Linked DNA regions of Homo sapiens: regions 2 and 3 are each linked to region 1. Evidence: promoter capture Hi-C in 16 types of primary human blood cells and fetal thymus (Javierre and others, 2016). All regions are on one chromosome and are shown on one strand. Each heading gives the region's core, a stretch centred on a gene start or on the middle of the fragment in contact. The rest is flanking DNA. Distances are from core to core; before and after follow the strand shown. Region 1 holds the start of KRTAP20-1 (keratin associated protein 20-1). Region 2 has its middle 26 kb from the start of KRTAP20-3. Region 3 has its middle 13 kb from the start of KRTAP22-2.

The links. The method cuts DNA at HindIII sites, captures the fragments that hold promoters and counts their contacts. A CHiCAGO score of 5 or more calls a contact.
Region 2: a contact is called between a fragment that was not itself captured here and the fragment with the promoter of KRTAP20-1 in region 1, in 1 of 17 cell types (neutrophils). The highest score is 5.2, in neutrophils.
Region 3: a fragment that was not itself captured here is called in contact with the fragment with the promoter of KRTAP20-1 in region 1 in 1 of 17 cell types (neutrophils); the score reaches 5.5 in neutrophils.

What each region holds. Positions count from the first base shown.
Region 1 is chr21:30,614,141-30,618,791 of GRCh38, forward strand. It overlaps KRTAP20-1 (keratin associated protein 20-1), which reads left to right and starts at 2,285. Exons shown (of 1, transcript NM_181615.2): 1 at 2,285-2,559. The coding sequence starts at 2,315. The coding sequence ends at 2,485. The HindIII fragment of the contact is 4,063 bases long and covers 1,071-4,651 here.
Region 2 is chr21:30,666,483-30,671,133 of GRCh38, forward strand. No RefSeq gene overlaps it. Among named protein-coding and RNA genes, the nearest start is that of KRTAP20-3, 26 kb to the left of the region's middle. The HindIII fragment of the contact is 8,660 bases long and covers 1-4,651 here.
Region 3 is chr21:30,575,019-30,579,669 of GRCh38, forward strand. No RefSeq gene overlaps it. Among named protein-coding and RNA genes, the nearest start is that of KRTAP22-2, 13 kb to the right of the region's middle. The HindIII fragment of the contact is 4,000 bases long and covers 355-4,354 here.

The DNA.
Region 1 (4,651 bases), core at 1,035-3,534:
GCATCTTTAATGAGCATCAACTGTCTGATCTTTAAAACTCTACTCACACCAGACATTCAAATTACCATTTTCCAACCAGCCTTTATGGCAAGAAATAGCATTTTAGTAAACAAACTGACCTGTTCTAAACAACCAATAATTTTACCTTATTTTTGCTGACATTCAACAGGTCATGGTAATCTCCCTTGAGCTTGAGTTTCTCCATCTCTTTCCTGCTGCTCCAAACCCATTGTTTTCCTTTAGGAATTCTTCTCATTTTCACATGAGAGATGGTTTTCTTTTAAAAGCCAGAAAGTGTCACTCAGCTTCCAGAGACTGTTGACACAAAGCCAATAGTTTGAAATTCTAAAATACCAGGCATGAGAAAACTATACTTTTCTTTCTCACATCAATATTTCCTTTTGTGACTGTTTTAAAACAATAGTTCTTTCCCATAGTTTCAAATTCGTAATCAATGAGGTTTCATTTTATTTATAAAATTGTATTTTTATAAAAATTTTCCTGAAATTTCAAGGCATTTGTTATATTTGTGTTCTGGCTCAAAAGTAAGTATAGGTATTTTCATATTTAAAACAATAATACTGGCAGAAGTATCTTTTCATGCAACCTACTATATTTCCACCATCAAACAAGAAGTCTTTGGCAAAATATGAGACTATGAGGAACATGTTACTATAGCCTAATCTTTTTTCAAAGCAGTGAAGATCAGAGCTAAATTGAATGATTAAGTCAAGTAGCCCTCTGGACTTATATTCTTAGTAAGATGACTTTATAAGAGTGAGTTGAATATAGTAAATAAGAGTAAAATATCTGTAATGTGCTTTCTAGGCTCAAATTTTACCTCTACTATCCATAGCTGTCTGACCACTGTTAACTACATGCTTCAGCTGCCCTATCTGCAAATGGGATTGTAATAATGATACCTACCCCACAAGGAAATTTAGAAAATCAAATCTTTTGATACATACCAGACACTTTGAATAGTGTTTGGTTCATAGTAGGAACCAGAATACTAGAATAAATTTTGCTGTCTTTACTTATTTCATCCCATCCCTGTTTTTCTGGATAGAAGCTTCAGTAGAGAGTTGATCAATTGAATAAGAGAACTCAGGCATGCTTAAGTTCTCATTTAGGGGCATTATGTCCTTGAAGCTGAAGGGAAGAGAAACTCTGCATTGAGGATGTACATCTAACAACAGAGAAAGTCACATCCTGGTTTTACTGAGAAGGGGAAAGTCCTACCAAGTTCCCCAACACACATAGCACAAGCAGGGGGAGATACAATGATTGGTTCTCACCCAGGTGGATCTGAGTGGAGACTCATTGATTTCCTTACTACAACCAAAGACTGTTCTGGCTGTAGAGACCCAAGGATGTAACACTTCATGCTAGGTAATGGATTGAACAGAGTTTTATTTTTGTGGCAGTGGAAAATGGCAATATGTGTTATGCCATCCAAAGGTGTCAGTGCAGAACAGGTATGGTCCTCCTCAAAACCAACAGCATATCACTGCACATCGAAGCACACCTCAGGCAGAGAATGAGGAGTGGTAATGTCTTTATTGCAATTGTATTTTAATACTGACAACCAGAAAGTGATTGAATTTTGTTGAGTTTACCTGAAAGGGACAAGAATAAATGTTTTGCCATTTAGTGGAAATAATGAATCAAGATAGAATTTGGTATAACAGTAAAATAAAGTGCATTTGTACGTTTGTAAAGTTGTATCCTGTAAAAATGTTACCTGACTTATGTATTTAAAGTGAAATAAACTGTTCTATCTCTGAAGAAATATTGGGCAATATTACAGATCTCATACTCGAAAGACTTGCCCCTTAGGCACATCTGTCTCCCCAAAGCCATGCAGACAGACTTCTTCAACTGCAACTGGTAGATGAATGTAAAGGAATTAACAAGCCAAAACCAATTTGAATCAGATGAGATTTGCATAGTTTCTGTTATTTCATAGAATCTCATCATGAAATTTTAGTATGTGCTCTCAGGAAAAAAGGATGTTAAAACCAGGTTAAAAAAAATCTGTCATTCAAATCACATTCTTTGATTGTGAAAATCTTGACACAACACTAGAGGAATCCTAGCTATGAAGGCTTCACTATGCCTAATGAAATAAGAGATTTATGAGAGTGTTGCCTTGGCGGTGTTAGCGGTCAACCCAAAATAATTCATAATAAGAGCAACATTGCCTGTGATTTGCCACACCTACTACTGAGGAAGTATAAAAGACCTGTGAAGATGGAGATGTTCAAATTCAAGAACATCCTCTTCTACACCTGAACCATCCATTTCTGACACCATGATTTACTACAGCAACTATTATGGTGGCTATGGGTATGGTGGGCTTGGCTGTGGCTATGGCTGTGGTTATCGTGGCTATGGATGTGGTTATGGTGGCTATGGAGGCTATGGAAATGGCTACTACTGCCCATCTTGCTATGGAAGATATTGGTCATATGGTTTCTACTGAACAATTCTAGAGCTCACCAGATTTGTCTGCTTGTGAAACCTGGATTCTCATGCTGCTCTTGTTCATCTGATCCTGTGTCTTCAAAACAGCAGAAACCTAAACTAGGCTATTATCAAAGAACTACAGATGCTGTCTTTCTCTGGTTCTGTTGTGCAAGATGATAAAGAATAGGTTTTAAAATGCAATTCTTTGATTCTTAAGTCCTTTAAATAAATTTAGTCTGTTTGCAAATATAGTGTGTTTTCATGTTTATTATTTTCATTGTCAACTTTGCATGTGGATGATGGTAAGATGGAAACCTGTGGATAATTACTATCCCAAGGGGTTGACACTACATCTTATTTCATTTTCCTATTTTTTGTCCTTCTGTATATTTCTCACACTATTTAAAACTGAGCTTCTGTAGGGACACAGTTGATTGCTTTCTCTTCAAATAATTTCTACTTGAGCTTGACAAGCTACACACCTAAGGCTGGTGGCTGCATGCTGCTGACTGTCCTTGTTTCTCCAGAGCACATAGAAACACATACACATTTTAAGTTGTGGCTTCCATGAGTTTTCCAAGTTGTCTGCCTTCTGGTAGCTTCATCACTATGAAGCCTCTCAGTTGCCTGATGTTGTTGATATAGATCCTGTATACAGGAAGTGCTGTGCCATGTCTGGGAACCTGGATGTCTTTATAGGAAATCTCTTTATGATAGGCGATTTTGATAATGAAGTTCATTTCATATTTCATTGCATTCATGCAACAGCTCCTAAAGTATTCTAGGCATGCTGCTATATTGGGAGAGAGCATCTTTTCATGAATATTCAAGATTATTTCTGTTGTAATATTACTAAATTTTATCTAGTTGTATACTTTATAAAACTGGTATTTGTGTACTATTAGAATATTCTAATTGGGTTTTACATTTTTTCCAAACGGAAGAGTTTTAGTGAATTTTTACCACATGGTATGAAAATCAAACTTCTCAATTAATCTGTAAAAATAAACTATTGACATTAAGGAAACTATATTAGGGAAATTTAAAAAACAAGTTATACAACTAGATAATGGGATTAAAAGTTTGTATCATGATTTAATGAATACAGCAAACAATATATCTTTTCCAGTAATTAGAATAAAATGAATCTAGAAACAGAACTCCAAATCTATGCATTGCCAGTTCTTAAAATTTTCTAAAATATCAAAACATACCTAAAATAATATATTTACTATTATACATATTGTATATGTGTTATTGCTAATGATTATTAGCAATAACACATGTATAAAATTTATAAATAAATGGTTGAATTGAAATTGGGAATGCAGGTTCAAAATATTTACAGTATGGTTTTCTCATCTCACAAGTTTGAAGATCTCTGCTCTCGACCAAATTTTCTCAAGGTGTGGTCTAGGGACGCATGTGGGAACCAAAGACCCTTTTGAGGTCTCGATAAGGGCAAAATTATTTTCATAATACATTTTTCATTTTTACTGCCATACATTCATGAATGAACGGTGGAATTTTCCAGATATATGCATGTTATCACAACAGACTAAAAGCTAAATCAGATATGAGAAACTGTCTTCCATTAAGCGAGACATTAAAGAGATTGACCAAACATGTAAAACATTCCACTATTCCTAAGAAGTTTTTGCTCTAAAAAAATTATGTTTCTAAAAATATGAAATTATGACTGTTATTTTGAAATTGATTAACTCATATTTTAAAATCATCAATTTTAATTTTAAAAAGATGAATATCAGTAAATATAACACATAAAGAATGGCTTTTCAAGATCCTCAGTAAGTTCTTTTATGATCGAAGAGTTTTAAAATCATTACTCCAAACAAACTAATCCTATCCACCATTATTTCTTGGTGGTACGTTACTTGAGACAGAAGCATGCCTGAAATATTTTGGTTTAAATCCTCAAATATGGGAGTTATTTAATTAGGAAATAACACTATGCTCTTTGACTCTCTGTGTGTTGGTTTTAAAAAGTATGGTTCAAATAATAGATACATATTCCAACAAGAATTTTAAAAGAAAAGTGACAAAGTCTTCAATATCTCAAATATAAGAACTCAAGTGACTAACCCTACTTAAAATTCACTTTCTAGGGGCAATTAATCTGTATAGCATAAACGAGATTCTTTTAAAAGAGAATAATATAGCC
Region 2 (4,651 bases), core at 1,528-4,027, 53 kb after region 1:
TTTGAACATTTGAATTGCAAATCTCAACATTTTAATTGCAGCTCCTCTTGTCAACTTATTTTTCACTCTAACATCAACTATTTTTTCTGCATTCCATGTCTCAGAATGCTTACATTTTCACTTTTTCAATAGAAATGCTTAATCTGCCCTAGGAAATATTGTTCTTATTTGTGTTTATTCAGTTCAGTAGGCTTTTGATGTCACAGGTACATTATTTGGAACTCAAACATAAATTTCTCTTCACTTGCAGCTGCAGGTAATTTATCCCCTAAGAATGGCTGAGTATATGTATGAAAAAGTTGAGTCACCTAATATCTTGTAGCTTCTTATAAAAGAAGAGATGAAATTTGGCTTCTTGTTTACTTTTGCCTTTTTCATGAGAAAATGTATTTTCCTCTTATTCTTACATTCAAACACAGCAGATGCACAGGAGATTTTAAAAGCCAGAGATAGTAAACAGGAAGAACAGTCTTGCCTTAGTTTCCCATGGCTGCAGTAACAAAGTACCCAAGCTGGATAGATTTAAACAACAGAGATCTATTTTCTCACAGTTTTAGAAGCCAGAAATCCAGAATCATGTTGTTCAAATGGCCATGTTCTTCTGAAGACCCTAAGGGAGAATCTACCCCATCCCTTTCTCCTAGTTTCTGCTGTTGCCAGCAGAATGCTTTGAATTCTTTGGCTTGTAGACTCATTACTCCAATCTTGCCACCATCGTGATATGGCATTCTCTCTGTGTATCTCTGCATCTCTTCTCTTCTTATAAGGACATCAGTCAGATTGATTTAGGGCCACCCAGAGTACGACCTCATCTTAACTTGATTGCATCTGCAAAGGCCCTATTTTTCTAAATAAGTCCTATGCACAGTACCAGGGGTTAGGAACCCAAAATATCTTTTTGGAGAACACAGTTACAACCCACAATAACACCCATGGTTATTGAGAGTTTCTCAAAATATTCAACCTCAGAATGAGCGAAAAGGGCAGATCTCCCCTCGTATATTTGCTTCTGTGAGAATTAGGGACCACTTGTACTATTGACCAAGAATAAGTAAAAACCTTAAGACATCAGGAAAAAGAAGCACACACTGTATCTGTCTTGGAAAATAACAGTGCTAAGGCATCAAAGTCTACTGATAGGAAAAATTAATGACTATAAGCCTATGAAAAACAAAAATACCAGTTTGGCCAACTGCCTGAGACCAGGGAATTAGGAATCAGGCTGACCTGGCTTCAAGTCCTAGCTCTGCTATTTAGTTATCTGTATAATTCCTAATAGCTGGTTTTACTAAATTTTCATTTATTTATTGGTAAAGTGGTGATAATATGCCATCTTCACTGAGTTTTTGTGAAAAATAAATAGGTTAGTACCTGTAAGATGCTTAGTAGACTGGCTGGCACATAACAGCACTCAGTAAAGATCATATACATCTATGTTTATCTTCCCACAAAGTAATAAGCTAAAGATAATTAAATTATCTATTAATCAGAGTTCACAAAAAAAATAATTTTAAATGATCCAGGTATATGATTTGCCTGTGCCTCCACCCAAATCTTAATTGTAACTTTTATATTTCCCACATGTCATGGGGAAAAGCCGGTGGGAGGTGATTGAATTATGGGGGCAGGTCTTTCCTGCACTGCTCTCATGACCAGTGAATGCGTCCCATGAAATATGATGGTTTTAAAAATGGGAGTTTCCCTGCACAAACTCTCTTCCCTTGTCTGCTGCCATGTGAGACATGCCTTTTACCTTCCACCATGATTGTGAGGTCTCCCCAGCCACATGGAACTGTAAGTACAATTAAAACCTATTTTTCTTCCCAGTCTCAGGTATGTCTTTATCAGCAGTGTGAAAACAAACTAATAGAGTAAATTGGTACCAGTAAAGTGAGGTGCTGCTAAAGATACCTGATAGTGTGGAAGCAACTTTGGAACTGGGTAACAGGCAGGGGTTGGAACAGTCAGGAGGGATCAGAAGAAGACAGGAAAAATGTGGGAAAGTCAGAAACTTCCTAGAGATGTGTTGAATGGCTTTGACAAAGATGATGCTGATAGTGATATGGAAAATAGCATCCAGGTCGGGGTGGTCTCAGATGGAGATAAGGAACTTGCTGGGAATTGGAGCAGAGGTGACCCTTCTTATGTTTTACAAAGAGACTGGCAGCATTTTGACCCTGCCCTAGAGATCTGTGGAACTTTGAACTTGAGAGAGATGCTTTAGGGTAACTGTCAGAAGACATTTCTAAGCAGCAAAGCATTCAAGATGTGACTTGGGTGCTCTTAAAGACATTCAGTTTTAAAAGGGAAGCAGAGCATAAAAGTTTGGAAAATTTGCAGCCTGACAATGAAATAGAAAAGAAAATCCCATTTTCCAAGGAGAAATTCAAGCTGGCTGCAGAAATTTGCATAAGTAGCAATGAGCTGAATGTTAATCCCCAAGACAATGGGGAAAACATCTCCAGAGCATGTCAAAGGCCTTCACGGCAGCTCCTCCCATCACAGGCCCAGAGGCCTAGGAAGAAAAAGGTGATTTACTGGGCCAAGCCCAGTGTCTCTGTGCTGTGTGCAACCTAGGGACTTGGTTCCCTGTGTCCAAGCCACTCTAGCCATGGCTGAAAGGGGCCAATACAGAGCTCAGGCCATGACTTCACAGGGAGCAAGCCTCAAGCCTTGGCAGCTTCCTGGGGCTGTGAAGCCTACCAGTGCACGGAAATCAAGAATTGAGGTTTGGGAACCTATGCCTGGATTGCTGAGCATGTATGGAAATGCCTGGATGTACAGGCAGAAGTTTGTTGCAGGGTCAGGGCACTCATGGAGAACCTCTGCTAAGGCAATATGAAAGGGAAATGTGGGGCCAGAGCCCCCACACAGAGTCCCTACTGGGGCACCACTGAGTGGAGCTGTGAGAAGAGGGCCAATGTCCTCCAGACCCCAGAATGGTAGATCCACAGACAGCTTGCACCATGTACCTGGAAAAGCTGCAGACACTAAATGCCAGCCCATGGAAGCAGCCAGGAGGGAGGCTGTACCCTGCAAAGCCACAGGGGCAGTGCTGCCCAAGACCATGGAAACCCACCTCTTGCATCAGCAAGACCTGGATGTGAGACATGGAGTCAATGGAGATCATCCTGGAGCTTTAAGATTTAACTGCCTTGCTGGATTTTGGACTTGCGTGGGGCCTGTAGCCCCTTTGTTTTGGCCAATTTCTCCTATTTGGTATGGCTATATTTACCCAGTGCCTGTACCCCCATTGTGTCTAGGAATTAACTAACTTGCTTTTGATTTTACAGGCTCATAGGTGGAAGGGACTTGCCTTGTCTCAGATGAGATTGGAATGTGGACTTTTAAGTTAATGCTGAAATGAGTTAAGACTTTGGGGTACTGTTGGGAAGGCATTATTGGTTTTGGAATGTGAAGACATGGAATTTTGGAGGGGCCAGGGGCAGAATCATAAGGTCTGGCTCTGTCCTCACCCAAATATCATCTTGAATTGTAACTCACACAATTCCCACGTGTCATGGGAAGAAGCCGGTGGGAGGTGATTGAATTATGGGTGCGGGTCTTTCCTGTGTTGCTCTTGTGATAGTGAATGAGTCTCATGAGATCTGATGGTTTTAAAAACAGGAGTTTCCCTGCACAACTCTCTTCTCTTGTCTGCCACCATGTGAGATGTGCCTTTTACATTCCACCATGATTACAAGGCCTCTCCAGCCACATGGAACTCTAAGTCCATTAAAACCTCTTTTTCTTTCCAATCTCAGGTATGTCTTTATCAGCAGAATGAAAACAGACTAATACACCAGGAAAAATGTAACTCAAATTATAATGTGTCTTATATGTTTCTTAGAATTTTCTGTTTTATCTAACTATACATATCCCTCTGCAGTATTCTAAAAAACCAGACCTATTTAATTGAAAAGTACAGTCCTATAACTGGATACTCAGTATCACTGAAATAAATGAATAAATTTTAACTGGTAATTGAAAAAGAATTATTAGTTGCAGCTCATGATGATGATGATGACTATGATGAAATCAGAAATTTCCACATGATCTAATGATTGTCACTGAATTACTGGCACAGCTAATATATATCATCTCAAGAAACCTGTACCCTTTCCTTATTACAGTGTTCCATTCACTGTAATAGAGCTTCCCAGGAACAGGCTATTCAGTACGTATGTGCTGGACTTCTCAAGCATCTACTTTCATGAGCCATTTAATCTGTCCTACTATGCCACAGAGAGCTTAGCACACGTGAAACTACTTGAGGGGGAAAAAGACGCAATTTCTATGAGCATATCAAATTCCACCCAAACTGACATTGGCAGATCATAGCGCACTACAGAAACAGATAGTATGGGCACCAAACCCAGAATAAGAATCTGTGATATTTGTTAGAAAACAGGACACATAAGCTAACTTTTCAATGATGAGCAGGAGTTAGCCAACATATTAGTCTATTATGTTGCTGATAAAGACATACCCAAGACTGGGAAATTTACAAAAGAGGTTTAATAGACTTACAGTTCCTCATGGCTGGGGAGGCCTCACTATCATGGCAGGAAGGCAAGGAGGAGCAATTCATGTCTTACATGTATGGCAGCAGGCAAAGAGAGAGCTTGTGCAGGGAAATTCCCATTTTTAA
Region 3 (4,651 bases), core at 1,105-3,604, 39 kb before region 1:
AATTCCACCTGTGTGACTTTATTTTTTCAGACATTTAAGCATTGATCGAAGACCTGGATGGCCAACATCATTTATGAGATCTTGATATACACATAATTTATATTTAGGATTCCAGTAATGCTGACCATGTTTTGTCACTCAAAAGCATAATCGTTATTGTTGTGAATGTGTTACTGTCATTTTTTATCTGGAGAATAGAATGTTTAGTTAAGCCCATTACCTCATGCTCTTGGGCCTTAATACCAGGATAAAAGCAAGATACAGGTGCTTGGATAGCTGTGATTAAACAGCTTAGATACTTCAGTAAGTTTCAAACATATTTACATAAAAACAATTAGAAAAAGATAGTTTAAAAGCTTTCAGAAAAAATAAGATAATTTTCTTTAAAATTATCTTTAAAATAAATTTCTTTAAAAATAAAAACATTTCATAGTATTTTAATGTGACTTGTAATTGGCACAAAAAGGAAATATCTTGCACCAAGATAAATTTAATTATTGTTAAATATGTGCTCAATAATTTTATTCTAGTCTGTTATTTATTAATTTCTTAAAGAAACATACCTTTAGATACTAACATTTTGCTCAGAGCCCAGGTTCCTTTTCAATCTAATTAATTTATTTATGTCAACACATTTGACTAAGAGCAGTTCTTTCTTGCAAGTAACTTCTCCTCCAGAGATCCTAAGGCTTTGCTGGATTTTATTCATAGAGCTCTTTCAGCCTGCCATCTCCTTTAACAGCCCTCAATGACAAGATAGCTCATTCTGGCAAAATAGAAAAGGAGTGCTTTGATTTAAGAAGAAGGACATGTGAAACAACAGAGGCATGTTTGCACTATATGTTTACAAATGTAATACAAAATCTATATAGTAGCTTCTTGTGCATCCCACTAAAGTGAAGTTCTACCATATTGGTTCATTAGTGATACAGCAAGTCCAAAGTCATCTATCCCTTGGCATGGAAGCGATGATAGCAAACTTGGCATGTGAGGTACAATGAATCTCCCTATTCCACTGGCTTTGAATTTATTAAAAATTTGTATTAATGTCCAGAACTATTGGGGAACTAACACTTGTTGAGTACAGTTTTATTTCTTATATCATTAAAACATCACACAATCCAAAGAGAGAAATATATCCTCACTTTTACAAATTAAAAAACTGAGGCAAAAAGAAGTCGAGTAATTGGCTAAAAGTCATATGAAAAGTAAGGAGAACAGTGATGGTCCAAACTCAGACCTACCCAGCTATGTGACGGTAGCATCGCTTTATAAAAATTCATTTTTTATCTGTTCCTTTTAACTTAAAAAATGCCTACTACCATACATATCACTTGTCCTTTCCTTGGAAAAATCAAGGGTTAAAATATTTGATGTTTTCTCAGCACACCTCTTTAGAGCAGACATGAACACAATGTGCCTTGAAATTTACTCCACTCACCATTTAGAAAGATGGAAATTGGAGTGATACCAGATTTTTTTTCTAACCTATCCTATAAAGACACACTAAAAATCACCTTCTAATAAGGGAATACCACACTGGGCATGAGTAAACAGGGATTACAACAAGCTGACCAGCTATAAACCATGAGACATACTGCATGGTTTTTCAGATCTTCTGCAAATAAGCTGAAGAACGACAGTCAAAAGGATGTGAAGTACAAAACACGAATTATGGCTGCAGGGAAGCTCAACATGAGATGATGCAGCGAACATACAGTCTGACTGAAAAGGCCAAAAGCCAGGGTATGTAAGGAAAATAAAGCTACTGTTTTGGATAATAGCATTGGTTGTGCTGTGACTAAAATGACTAAATGAGATTGAAAATCTACCATGATTAAAATTAATTAATATAAATTATTGCAGTACCATGGAGGACCTGGTTCTTAACAATGCACACTCTGTGGAAGAAAGCATTCATTCATGTATTGGTATTTTTAGCTGACATATAATATCCATATATATTTTGTTTGTTTGTTTGTTTGTTTGTTTGAGATGGGTTCTCACTCTGTCACCCAGGTTGGAGTGCAGTGGTGCGATCTTGGCTCACTGCAACCTCTGCCTCCCAGGCTCAAGTGATCCTCCCACCTCAGCCTCCTGAGTAGCTGGGACCACATGCATGAGCCACCGTGCCCGGCCAATTTTTTGTATTTTTGGTAGAGACAGGGTTTTGCCATGTTTCCCAGCTGGTCTCAGACTCCTGAGCGCAGGCAAGCAACCTGCCTCAGCCTCCCAAAATGCTGGGATTACAGGCATGAGCCACCGCACCCAGCCTATATATTTATAATTTGTAATTGATGTGTTAATTCATTATTTGGGAGTTAACAAACTCAGGAGCCAGAACACTGTTAACAGGGACTCTGCTAAGTGCTGAGAATACAAACATATATCAGGCAAGAACAAAGGCTTCAATAATTCGTAATTATGATTTATACTTCCTGCTTTGTACATTTGTGCCTTTATGTACACAGTTTTCTCCACCTGAAATGACCTTCCATCTTGACTTCATCTGGCTACTTCATCATTGTCATAGAAAACCCCCCTTATTTGTCTCTGCACCCTGAATGAGTCACCTTATCCTCTATCTCTTGTCCATATTTTATGTTTCCATAACACCCCTGTGGTCTTTCCTCTCACAGCGCTTACCTGTAATGTAGACTCACCTGTCTACTAACTTACTAAACTATAAGCTCTTTCATGGTAGGGATTATGTCTTGTTTCTCTTTTTATAATAGATGCTCAGTTTACACCATGTGTGTAAATGAATGAATGAATAAATCTTATTGGGATAGATCTAAAATAAATGGTAAAAAAACAAAGTCTATGTCTTATAATTAAGTAAGGGAAGAGTTCTGTGGGCAATGAGTGAAGAGATCATCTGGGTCTGCCTGACATGACTAAGTAGGTTCTGTGGGAGGCAGGCAAAGAAACACTTCTCAGATAATGCAGTGCTCCAGTGAAGACTTCACAGTTGACTCAGCTATAGCTCATCAGGCAGAATAGATTTTCTCATAGATGTTGTGAGTTATCCACAGATAAGAAGGACTGAGAATGCATGCCATGGTCAGCAAATTTTTAGTAGAAAAAACAGGATAAAATGACTGTTGGTATATGAAGGAGAAGCAGAAAATGACACCAGACTCTGATATGGTTTGGCTCTGTGTCCCCACCCAATTCTCATCTCAAGTTGTAATCCCCGCGAGTCCAGGAAGGAACTTGGTGGGAAGTAGGTAGATATGGGGGCGGTATCCCCCACGCTGTTTTCATGAGAGTGAGGGAGTTCTCATGAGATCTAATGGTTTAAAAGTGGCAGTTTCCCCTGTGCTCTCTCTTTCCTGCTGCCATGTAAGATGTGCCTTGCTTTCCCTTCACCTTCTGCCATGATTATAAGTTTCCTGAGGCCTCGTCAGCCATGCAGAACTGTGAGTTATATGGTTTCTGTGTTATATAGTTTCTATATAGTTATATAGAACGGTGAGGATATAGTTTCTTCTGAGACTAAGAAGCCAGCTCTTACCTTTACAGATTACCCAATCTTGGGCAGTTCTTTATAGCAGTGTGAAAACAGACTAATACAAACACTAACCCAGACTGGATCATGAAGGAGTCTTATGCCCTGCTTATAAGGTCAGATTTTGTGCATTAATTGATGGAGCCAAAGAGCAAGGACAGACCTCCCGCTGACAGCAGGAAAACAGTCTTTCAGGTAGACTAGTAAGAAGCACCAAAAATGCAAGAGAACCAAAGTAAGAAAAGCATATAACAGAAGCCAAGGAATGAAGTGGCCGTTAGTGCCAAATGACACTAGGAGGGCAAACATGAGATATCAAAAAGACTGAGTAATTAGTGGGCCATTGGTGACCTAAATGAGAACAATCCTTGGGTTACAGTGAGAGGAAGAGACAAGTTAGAGTGTATTGAAGACTGAATGAGAAGCATCAGAGAAAACTATATCAAACCTTAGATTTAAAGAAGGTTAGAGAAAGCTAGCCAGGAGTGATCTGGTGTTGAGACAGGCTTTTTTAATATCAAAAGACTTGAGCATGTTTATAGACTGACTGTAAGGTGTCAGTGGAAAAAAAAAGAAGCTAAAATATAGTAGACAGAGAGGAAAATTTATCAAGCAAGGCGTTGAAGGAGATGGCATTTAAAGCAAAAGTGGAAGAATGATTTTTCTGAAGAGGAGAGAGGATATAGTTTCTTCTGAGACTAAGATAAAAGGCTAAAAGACAGGTGCAAATGTAGATAAGTGTGTGGGAAGAGAGTTGATAGAGTTTTCCCGTGATAGATTCTCCTTTCTCCATGAAAAAGAGGCAATTGTTACAAGCAGAAGGAGGAGCAGAAGGCAGAAGTAAGCTTTGAACAAGGGGCTTTAGAGATAATAGTGAAGGGGTGGAGTAGCTGCACTGAAAGCAAGAAAGAAAGAGTCCTGAAAACAAGTGAAAGGATTCCCAAATAGCACCAAGGACTCAGTCAAAACAAGAATCCTGTAAATGCATGGTGGCAACATTCCATGAGGTTCTGGGATTTCCTCCAATAGCAGCGAGGAGCCTGAGTTTGGAGGAGAGAAGCCTTGGATTAATGCACAGATGAAGGTTTGCAGCATAGGGGAATAGGAAGAGGAGATAATTTGCTGAAAGAGGTGTGATTG